Regions from separate parts of the Homo sapiens genome. Here regions 2 and 3 are each linked to region 1. Evidence: promoter capture Hi-C in human tissues and cell types (Jung and others, 2019). All regions are on one chromosome and are shown on one strand. The core of a region is centred on a gene start or on the middle of the fragment in contact, and the rest is flanking DNA. Distances in the headings are between cores, read along the strand shown.

Region 1 (3,420 bases), core at 519-3,018:
ATTGCTTGAACCTGGGAGGCGGAAGTCGCAGTGAGCTGAGATTGCGCCATTGCACTCCAGCCTGCGTGACAAGAGCAAAACTCCGTGTCAGAAAAAAAAAAAATAAAAATAAAATAAAATAAAATCAATTGCTGGGGCAATAGTGATTTTTTTTTTTTTGAGACAGGGTCTTGCTCTGTTGCTCAGGCTAAAGTGCAGTGGCTCAAACATACCACCTGTGTTCAGAGTTCACTGCAGCCTTGACTTCCCAGAATCAAGCTATCCCCCTTCCTCAGCCTCCTGAGTAGGTAGGACCACAGCCCTGCGCCACGATGCCCGACAGATTTTTTAATTCTTAGTAGAGATGAGGTCTCACTGTGTTGCCCATGCTGATCTTAAAGTCCTAAGCTCAAATGATCCTCCCGCCTAGGCCTCCCAAAGTGCTGGGATTACTGGAACCTGGCCTAATTTTTTTTTTTAAATAATTAGCAAGGTGTGATGGCACGCGCCTGTAGTCCCAGGTATTTGGGGAGCTGAGGAAGGAGAGAACCGCTTGCGCCCAGGAAAGCCGAAACTGCCGTGAGCTATGATGGCCCACTGGACTCCAGCCTGGGCCACAGAGGCAGACCCTGTCTCAAGATTAAAAAAAAAAAAAAATCCAAAAGTTGTAACCTGTCCAAAGTTCTCACAGAGGTAACTGGTAACTAGAGCTTCTAAGACCATTATTTCCAGTTCTGGTTTTCCTCAATGCTCTTGCCTTTTCCTCTTCCAAAAACACAATGGTCATGTTTTTACCAAACTTTTACCAAACTTTCCAAACCAACGAAACCCCTTCAAAACAACTGACAATGCTACCAGTACTAGTTTAGTGACTGACAGGCCCTCCATCATAAAGATTCATTTTTACTTCTGCAATTGTGTTTTAAGTAAGTTCGCACACAGTACGATGTACATAAACTCTCGAGGACAAATACTACTAATCACTTACGCCACAATTACGGCTTTTAAGAGACTTTTTAGCTCTCTTCGGAATGAAGCCTATTTGTATCTTATCTTTTAATCTTCATAATAATACTTCGGTAAGATATTTTACTTCACACATATGGAAACTGGGTCAGAAAAGTCTAGAAGGTGGCTACGAGATATTATTATTTTAATTATTCGCTCCAAGCCAACAAAGCGAGCAAAACGGATTAAAGCTGTTGCAGAGGAATCTTCTTTCACTCAACTTAAGTCCAGACAACAGAGTAGACAGTTAAAGTCTGAGGCTCCATCCGAAATAGGGAAGGCATAACAGGGAAAGTCACCTTCCTCCAAGTCATCCAGTTGAGCATGTCATCTTAGTGGAGACAGAGGGAGCGGGGACAGGTTGAGTCAATGACAATGATTGAAAAGAGACGAGAACAGAGGCCTAACGGTGAAGGTCATAGAAAGGATGTGAAACCGATACTTGGCCACGGAAAAGAACAAAATCAATATAAAGTATCGGAGAGGCAAATGCAAGCTCCGAGGGCGCCGGTGGTGGACAAAGAATACAGACAGAGGGGAGGGGAGGGCGGGGCGGAGGGCGGAGGAGCGCGCTCGCGGAAGGAAGGTACCCTGAGAGCGAAGGCAGGCACCGCGGAGGCCGGCGGGCCGCGACCGCCGAGGAGGGAGGAGGCAGGAGGCCGCGCACCGCCTAGGACTCTGCGAGCGCGGCCCGGGCTGGGCCTGCGGAGCAGCTACAAAGCCCAACCCAGGCCGCTAGCCCGGGCACACTCACCCGCGACCGCGGAAACGCAGCTGACAATGTCCGCACTTCCGGAGGGAGGGACGATCCGCAGCCGAGCCAATGGGCGCCTTCAACGGGGACGACAAAGGCGCGCTTGCGTCAACCCGGGGTCGCACAGCACGCAGCAGTGTTGCCCAAGGGGCGCGGCGAGGCTTCCGGCTCTGCGGCCTGCAGGTAGCGCGAAAGTCCTGCGCGTCCCAGATGCCCAACTAAAAGCTTCGCTGCGGGAAGAAAGCCTGACCTGACTACACCCAGACCCAGAACGCAGGATCTCGGTAAAGGATGATGCCTGTGCAAACGGCGCGGCACCCACACGGAAGGTGGCAGCTAGGCCGTTGAGGCAACTGTGGATAAGCTATTAGTTTTGCTGGTTTCTTAAATTCAAGGGCAGAGCAAACTAACATTAAGGCCAACTTTACAAACGTCAGTTGCTTAAAAGAAGCAGTTACATCACTTTATAAACGAAAAGTACTGACGCTCGCTAGGATGTCAGTACGTGTTGGCGAAGTTGTGTGAAAACTGGGACCCTCATAAACCGTTGGTGGAAATGTAGCGTGCAGCCTTTTTGGAAATATTTGGAAGTTCCTCAGATGTTTACTCAGGTAACCTTATGATCTAGCAATTCCACTCTAGTATATACTCAATAAATGAAAACACAAAAATCTGCACACAAACGTTCACAGTACCATCGTTCCTAATAGCAAAAACAAAACCCCTTTATCAATTGACGAAATGATACAGGTTGAGCATCAACCTAAAAAGCTTCAAAACCTGAGCCTGAGTGCTGTTATCATACTCAAAGGCAATGCTCAATGGAGCCATTTCCAACTGGGGATGATCAACTGGTATATTCACATACTGGATTGTTCTGCAAAGAAAACCACTGCAAATTCCTTTTGGGATAATGAAACTTTTTTTGAGACAGGGTCTTGTTCTGTCTTGCCCACGCTGGGGTGCAGTAGTGCTCACTGCAGCCTCCCACCTCAGCCCCCCAATTAGCTGGGACTACATGCAAGTGACACCACACTTACTTTTTTTTAACAGACAGGGTTCTGACATGTTGCCCTGGCTGGGCTTAAGCAGTCAGCCTCCACCTCCCAAAGTGCTGGGACTACAGAAATGAGCCACTGTGCCCAGCCATGAAAATGGTTTTTAATGGTGCAGGGTAAACAATCTTGTGTTTCTAGTTCTAATCCTAAAAAATCCTCATTTGATCCATCTTGTAAGGACACTTGAAATATGTTCACTAATAAAGACAACCAACATTCTTTTCCTTTTAATTACATTTATTTTAATGCTGAATTTACTCCCGTGCCATAAGTTTTTGTTTCTTCAGTTTCTTCTGGGATATCTGGGGAAAGAAAAATGTGTTAAGTTTCTTAGAGAAAACCACAGTACATCTTGGAGGACTTCAGCTTATTCTGGAGGCAGGAAACCTAGTCGTTAAGGACTAAGGGGGAAAAATACTTAAATGGTAGAAATCAACAGAACTTAAGTTCATTAGATGTAAAAAGAAGTGTACAGAATCACTCAGGTTCTTGACTTAAAAGAACTAAATGTGATCAATTACTGAAAACAAGCTTCTTAGATTTGGGGAGAGGGCCCATTTTGAAGTGGCTATGTACATCTAAGTGGGGCCATCAGCAGATAATCATACGGGCCTGAGGTAC
Region 2 (3,412 bases), core at 470-2,969, 580 kb before region 1:
ATATATTTTAGTGAATATATGTGTGCATTTCTGATGCAGGTATGATTCTCTTTAGCTTTGGTAGATACTGCCAAAAAGTTAACCAGTTTATACCCCCAGCATCATCACACAAGAGTTCCTGTTGCACCACGTCCTCACTCCCATTCAGTACTAAGTAGCATATCTTTAAATGAACACTAGCATCTTTTAAATTCTGCTCCACTACTAGACAACCATGAAAATGAATAATCTCCAAAAATGTCTGTGATGTATCATTAAGTGACATAAGCAGGGCGCAGGCTGATATGTAGAATGTGACTCCATTGGTGAGAATTGTATATGTGCATATGTAGAGGCAGAAGCCAATTCAGAAAGGGGACATATCTGAGTCTCCAGCATGCTCACCTCTGGGGAGTGAAGTTGGAGGGCATAATTTAAATGATGAGGTTAGCGCTAATTTTTACTTTTGATACCATTTTTCAATATTTTTAAAATTCAAGAAAAAGATCTGTATAAGTAAAATAAAATCACTCACCATTCCATTATCTAAGGCTGGCAGCCAGACTCTGTCATTCTTGTTATTTCCCAGCATGCGCTCCTGCTCTGGAATTACCTCGGGCAGGGCCTCTGGGACAAGTCTCCCGGGCACTGTAATTTCCCTGGCTGCAGTGTGTCATTAGAAGATTTGGTGCTGATGACACGACGCCCATACACAGTGAACATTACAGCCCCGGTTGGGACAGGACAGCTTGGCCAAGGAGCAAGCCCTTCCTGCAGAGAGACCCCCAGAGTCTCGAGCTGCCTCAGTGGGATCAGGCCTTAGCGTGTTTCTGTCTCGACCTTAAGGAACAGAAGCTGGGAAAACTACTCTTTCAAGGCTGCTGGTGTCTCTAGGCTCCCCTGGAGACCCAGGGCTCAGAGCAAGGGCTGTGGAGTTAGGCAGACCTGGGCTTCGGTTCTACCACGCTTTTGCTGTGAGTCTCTCGCTGGGCCTGCAAGTCTTCACCTGTAAAATGAGCTAATGAGAGCGCTTACCTTAAAGACAACACAACGTAGGCCAGGCGCGGTGGCTCACGCCTGTAATCCCAGCTACTCGGGAGGCTGAGGCACGAGAATTGCTTGAGTCTGGGAGGCGGAGGTTGCAGTGAGCAGAGATCATGCCATCATGCCACTGTACTTCAGCCTGGGTGACAAGAGTGAAACTGTCTCAAAAAAAAAAACAAAAAAAAAAAGTACCTTGCAGAGAGTGCCTGGCACATACTTAGCCCTAAGTAAACGCAGGTTTTTGTTATTATTATTGTGGGTGTAGTTGTCGCTATTACCACCACCCTAAGAGGTAAAGTTTTGCATTCACCTTTTGGGAGAAAAGAATATAATAATGTGCTTTTTATTTTCACTAGTGTTATAAAGTAAGTACATACCCACTTTTCTTTTCTTTTTTTTTTTTGGAGATGGAGTCTCGCTCTGTCCCCTAAGCTGGAGTGCAGTGGTGCAATCTCGCTCACTGAAGCCTCTGCCTCCCAGGTTCAAGCAATTCTCCTGCCTCAGCTTCCCGAGTATTTGGGACTACAGGTGCACACCAGCTAATTTTTAATAGAGGCTGGGTTTCACCATGTTGCCTAGGCTGGTTTCAAACTCCTGAGCTCAGGCAAGCCGCCCACCTCGGCTTCCCAAAGTGCTAGGATTACAGGCGTGAGCCACTGCACCTGGTCCCATACCCACTTTTCTTGGGGAAAAGGGAATTTGGCTGAGCACAGTGGCTCATTCCTATAATCCCAGCAAGGCAGGAGGATCACTAGAGACCAGCAGTTGGAAACCAGCCTGGGCAATGTAGCGAGTCTCCGTCTCAACAAAAAAATTAAAAAATTAGCCAGGCAGGGTGGTGCTCACCTTTAGTTCCAGCTATTTGGGAGGCTGAGGGCAGGAAGATCATTTGAGCCCAGGAGTTCAAGGCTATGATCATGCCACTGCACTACAGCCTGAGCAACAGAGACCCTGTCTCTAAAAAAAAAGAAAAAAGATAAAAAAAAGGAATTCACCTGGAACTTAAATTCATATATTTTAGTTGAAAAGTTAAATAGTCATTCAACATTGATCCATCCAATATCGGTTGAGTGCCTTCTATCCCTTCTATGTGCTGGGCATTGTTCTAGATTCTGGGGTTATGGCAGTGACCAGAGCAAAGTCCCTGCTGTCACAGAGCTCACACTCTACTAGGGGCCTCTGATAATAGTCAAGCCAACAAACAGATATATAATAAAATGTCAAACATAGGCCAGGCACGGTGGCTCACACCTGTAATCCCAGCACTTTGGGAGGCCAAGGCAGGCGGATCATGAGGTCAAGAGATCGAGACCAGCCTGGCCAACCTGGTGAAACCCCATCTCTACTAAAAATACAAAATTAGCCAGGCATGGTGGTGTGCGCCTGTAGTCCCGGCTACTCCGGAGGCTGAGACAGGAGAATCACTTGAACCTGGGAGGCGGAGGTTGCAGTAAGCTGAGATCATGCCATTGCACTCCAGCCTGGGCAACAAGAGCAAAACTCTGTCTCAAAAAAAAAAAAAAAGGCAAATGTGTATATAATACAGTAAGTATAATGTCAACCACCAATATGAAGAAAAATCAAGCAGGATAGGCAAGAGGAGCTGGGAACGTGGTCTGATGACTCTAATCAATGTGTTCACTGGAGCCGGAGCTCTGCTCTGAGCCTCTCTCTCCTTGCCCAGAGGGTACTGGCTTTGGCCAGGTTAAAGTGGCCCCTGGCCTCAACCAGATGAGGTTGAGGAGAAGGTGAAGAGCCGTTTCAAAGACTACGTAGCTGAGGAGCAGGCAAGGGCAGGGTTTCATCAGAGAGGAGCCCTGGACCAGGTGGGAGACTGTGCCCTTGGAGGACACCTGGTGGCAGTCCCTCATGGGGCACCACTGGAGAGGCACTTCATGCCAATTACAGCAGGTATTTACTCATCACCTACTACGAGCCCAGTGCTGGGCTTTGTACTGTGACTGTGAAAGGATTCAAGTAAGCATGAGGGCTGGGCTCGTGCCTGACCTCAAGGAGCTCCCAGACGCTGGAGATACAAGACCCACCTCCATAAAAGAAAGAAGCAAGCCAGATTCTGCAAGGGACTGAGTGTGGGGCACAGGTCACATAATCATCTGGATAGGCAAACCTCCAAATCTCAGCCACAAAGAAAAAGTTCCACATTCAAACAAAGTCTGCAGCGGGCCCAGGGGCTCTCCAGAGCAGCCATTCAGGATCCGAACGCTTTTCCATCTTCTGTCTCCATCATCCTAAAACATATCTTCCAGGTCCCTGTGGCAGAGAGAGAGAGAGAGAGAGAGAGAGAGCTGGGTCACCCTGCACCAATTTTTCAATGCTTTAGCTTGGAAGTGACACATGGCACTTCTCACAGCCCATTGGCCAGAACTGG
Region 3 (3,352 bases), core at 377-2,876, 730 kb before region 1:
GCAAGTCACCTAATCTCCCTGAGCCCCAGTTACTCATCTGTAAAATGGGTGTTAATACTACACACCTTGCTGAGAGACTGTGAAGGTTAAATGAAATAACGTGTACAGATATGTTCTTGTGGGTATTCCTATTCTATATGCAGACCACTGTTCCTGCCCTGGGGCCCAGATGGTCGGAAGAGAGGGGTACATGGGGGAATGGAACAGAGAAGGTAGATCTATAGCACCTATAGATCAGTTTCAAGGACTCCACTCAGGTGAGGCCTCCTGAACTCCTGGACCAAGAAGACATGGGCTCAGGCTCAGGCTGGGTCACTCCCCACTCTGCTAGTTGCTCACTCTAAAAAAGGGTAAATCCTAGGTGGCCAACCAGCCACATCCTAAACATTTTCATCAGGGAGAGCAACACTTTCCTTCTCTCTTTCAAGAGACAGGTAAAGCGTGAGATGTCTCTTGGGGTGGGGATTTGTGTCCTGTTAACTTTACCCAGGGACTCAGAGTAGCCTTCCCTGAAGAGGTGGTTGGGTTTGAGGAGAAGAACTAGGCCACCCTATTCCTTCACCCAGGATTCAGCCCTTTCTTTTTTTTTTTTTTTTTTTTGAGATGGAGTCTCGCTCTGTCACCCAGGCTGGAGTGCAGTGGCCCAATCTCGGCTCACTGCAAGCTCCGCCTCCCGGGTTCATGCCATTCTCCTGCCTCAGCCTCCTGAGTGTTTGGTTCTCAAGCCAGAGACTAGCTGCCCTTGGAACTTGATCCCACCATGGAAGGGCTCAAGGAAAGCTATAGATTTTCTCGTCTAACCTCACTGTGTTACCTATGAGGAAACTGAGGCCCAGAGAGTGAAATCACTTACCCAAAGCCACACAGCTAGAGGCAGAGAGTGGGATCTAGAGCCTTGGTCTGTGCCTTCTAGGCCAGAGCTTCTATTGTCAGGGACAGAAGACCAAGCTTGGATCTCATTTCATGACCCTGACCCTGCCCTTCCAGCCAGATCTCACTTCCTTGCAGTTAAGTTGTTCCCATTCTTGGCCACCAAGAATGAGTCAATACAATAAGATGACATTTTTTTCTTCTTCAAGCCCCTGGTCTGGTCCTAGTTGCAGTGAAATCTCATAAGGCTGTAGGGCTTTTTACTTGTAATATCCCTCCTAGAAGCCCAACTGTTTTAGTGGCACATGGGAGGATTCCTTGGTGTGTGGCATATGTCTACAGAAGACCAGCACAGTCTCCACAGGACAAAAAGCCAGGGCTGTGCCCACAGGGGGCCCTATGCCCAGAGAACAAGTCATCATTGGGCATTTGGAGCTGAGGGTGTAGGGGACAAGGTGGCCACTGCCTGGGCCGCTTTTAACCACCACTGCAGGCATTTTGGATCTGACCTGCCTTCCTGACCAAGTCTTCCTACCCTCATTTTCTCTTTGGCCCGATTTCATATTTGTTATCTTATTTCCTCTTTCATAATTTCCATTAAATCTTTTCTAGATTAAGATATTTGATGGACAAATAAACAAAAAAAGCCAATGTATATGAGAATCCTGGGTAGGAGCTAGAACCCAAAAACAGTATCAGCCCTGGATGTCATAGGGGCCAAGAAAAAAGGCAACAAGGAGCTTTTGGCGCATGAGGGGTCTTTGGTGGAGGTTCCCAGAGGGACCAGCCCTCAGATCCAGGGAAGTAGGCCTGGTCCTGCTTTCTGGGGGTGGCCACCCTCTTTCCACCAGGCCACCCCTGCACAGAGACCTCGGCTTCACTCAGGCACATTCATTTGTCTCCGACACCCCCAGGATGAAGTGGCCGTGGAGACGACCACTCCCCAGCAGAACAAGATGGACAAGCTGATCGAGATCCTGAACAGCATGCGGAACAACAGCAGCGACGTGGACACCAAGCTCACCACCTTCATGGAGGAGGCCCAGAACTCCACCAACTCCGAGGAGATGCTGGGCGAGATCGTGCGCACAATCTACCAGAAGGCTGTGTCCGACCGCAGCTTCGCCTTCACCGCTGCCAAGCTCTGCGACAAGATGGCGCTCTTTATGGTGGAGGGGACCAAGTTCCGGAGCCTGCTCCTCAACATGCTGCAGGTAACTGGACGCCGGCCACCACCGCCCCGCGCCCCCTGCCCCTCTGCGTTCGGTGAGTTATTCCTAGCGAGAAGGCTGCGAGTTCTGGCCACAGTTGGACTTTTCCCAAGTTCCGCCCTTGCCCGATTAATTATAGAAAACACAAAGGCAGTTAAGGGGCCAGGAATGAGCGGCTGGATTTGTGTGTGTTTATGTGTGGGCTCCCTGGTTACAATGGACCAATATAATTTTATAGGTGCTTTATGTTTAACCAGCCTTTCCCACTTTCTATTTTCATAAGAGGCTGGCTCTTGGTCTCAACCTGGCTATGTGCTTTGACCTCTCTACATCCAAGCAGACATGAACTTGCTGTGGACTTCTCTTTTCCTCCTCCTTCCACCCAGGGCTAGGTCCTTAGACCTTTGCAGATATGCAGTTGATCATCACTGGTAGTGAGATGGGTTTGAGTAAAGCCACACATGAGCAGAAAAGGGATAGTCTGTTTACCAACACACTATGGCTCCTGGGCAGAGGGAAGTCACGGTGATGCAAGACTGTCTTCATCCTTGCTCTTTCCCTCTTAATATCCCTTCACCTCTGACAGTGTAACCCCACCCCTGATCATTGCTTCCTCCATGAAGGCCCACGTCCAGTGGTTCTATCAGCATGAGTGTGTCGTGGGAGTAGGCGCGTGCACTTGGACGGAGCTTAGCAATGTTTCATCTCACAAGTACCTGCTTGCCTGTATGGGCAGTAGCAGATGAGCTGGTGGCCCCAAAACTGGTGACGTCAGGGAGAGATAGCAGGGTCATGGGATGGTGGCCACATCAGGTCCTGGGACTGTCCTTGGAGACTCTTGGCTGGGGGAGAGCCATGTCTCCTTTCCTCCTATTTTGTATTTTAGAGACTAGTTAAGATACAAAGTGAGTTTCTGGTCCAGATGAGATAAAATGGTAGTTTCCAAGTAATGAAGTAGAATGGCAGGCTATAGGGCCATCTTAACTAGGGTGACCATACAATAGATCATCCAAACTGCAACACTTGTGAAAGTCAAAGGGGGTTCAGTTCATAATTATGCCTAGACAACAGGTGTAAACAAGGGCATATGGCCACCCTCACCTTAACCATGTGGTTCGCAGTCTGCCGTCTTCCCTAAAAGCTGGGAGGAAGTTGCCGCTAAGGCCACCTCTACATGCAGCCGGCAGGGCTCCATCCCCACCCACCCTCTCCTCTGCATGTGAGTTGCACTCACTGCAACATGAGCCCTCCCTGGCCAGCCTGGGCTGCTT

Evidence for each region. The method cuts DNA at HindIII sites, captures the fragments that hold promoters and counts their contacts. A contact is called where the count stands out against the background at its distance.
Region 2: a contact is called between a fragment that was not itself captured here and the fragment with the promoter of C18orf32 in region 1, in 1 of the 25 tissues and cell types used here (dorsolateral prefrontal cortex).
Region 3: a fragment that was not itself captured here is called in contact with the fragment with the promoter of C18orf32 in region 1 in 2 of the 25 tissues and cell types used here (dorsolateral prefrontal cortex and lymphoblastoid cells).

The regions. Positions count from the first base shown.
Region 1 is chr18:49,485,466-49,488,885 of GRCh38, forward strand. C18orf32 (chromosome 18 open reading frame 32) reads right to left here and starts at 1,769. Exons shown (of 3, transcript NM_001035005.4): 1 at 1,578-1,769. All of the region lies in intron 5 of RPL17-C18orf32 (RPL17-C18orf32 readthrough), which reads right to left. It overlaps RPL17 (ribosomal protein L17), which reads right to left. Exons shown (of 7, transcript NM_001035006.5): 7 at 3,016-3,101. The coding sequence ends at 3,054. It overlaps MIR1539 (microRNA 1539), which reads left to right and starts at 1,908; the gene lies at 1,908-1,957. RefSeq lists a silencer at 1,498-1,627 and an enhancer at 1,668-1,827. The HindIII fragment of the contact is 6,566 bases long and covers 1-2,239 here.
Region 2 is chr18:48,910,490-48,913,901 of GRCh38, forward strand. LOC124904355 (a long non-coding RNA gene) reads right to left here. Exons shown (of 3, transcript XR_007066464.1): 1 at 3,069-3,412; 2 at 1,015-1,162. Among named protein-coding and RNA genes, the nearest start is that of SMAD7, 39 kb to the right of the region's middle. The HindIII fragment of the contact is 9,089 bases long and covers 1-3,412 here.
Region 3 is chr18:48,759,606-48,762,957 of GRCh38, forward strand. CTIF (cap binding complex dependent translation initiation factor) reads left to right here. Exons shown (of 12, transcript NM_014772.3): 9 at 1,785-2,084. LOC107985147 (a long non-coding RNA gene) reads left to right here and starts at 2,091. Exons shown (of 2, transcript XR_001753444.2): 1 at 2,091-3,352. The HindIII fragment of the contact is 7,353 bases long and covers 1-3,352 here.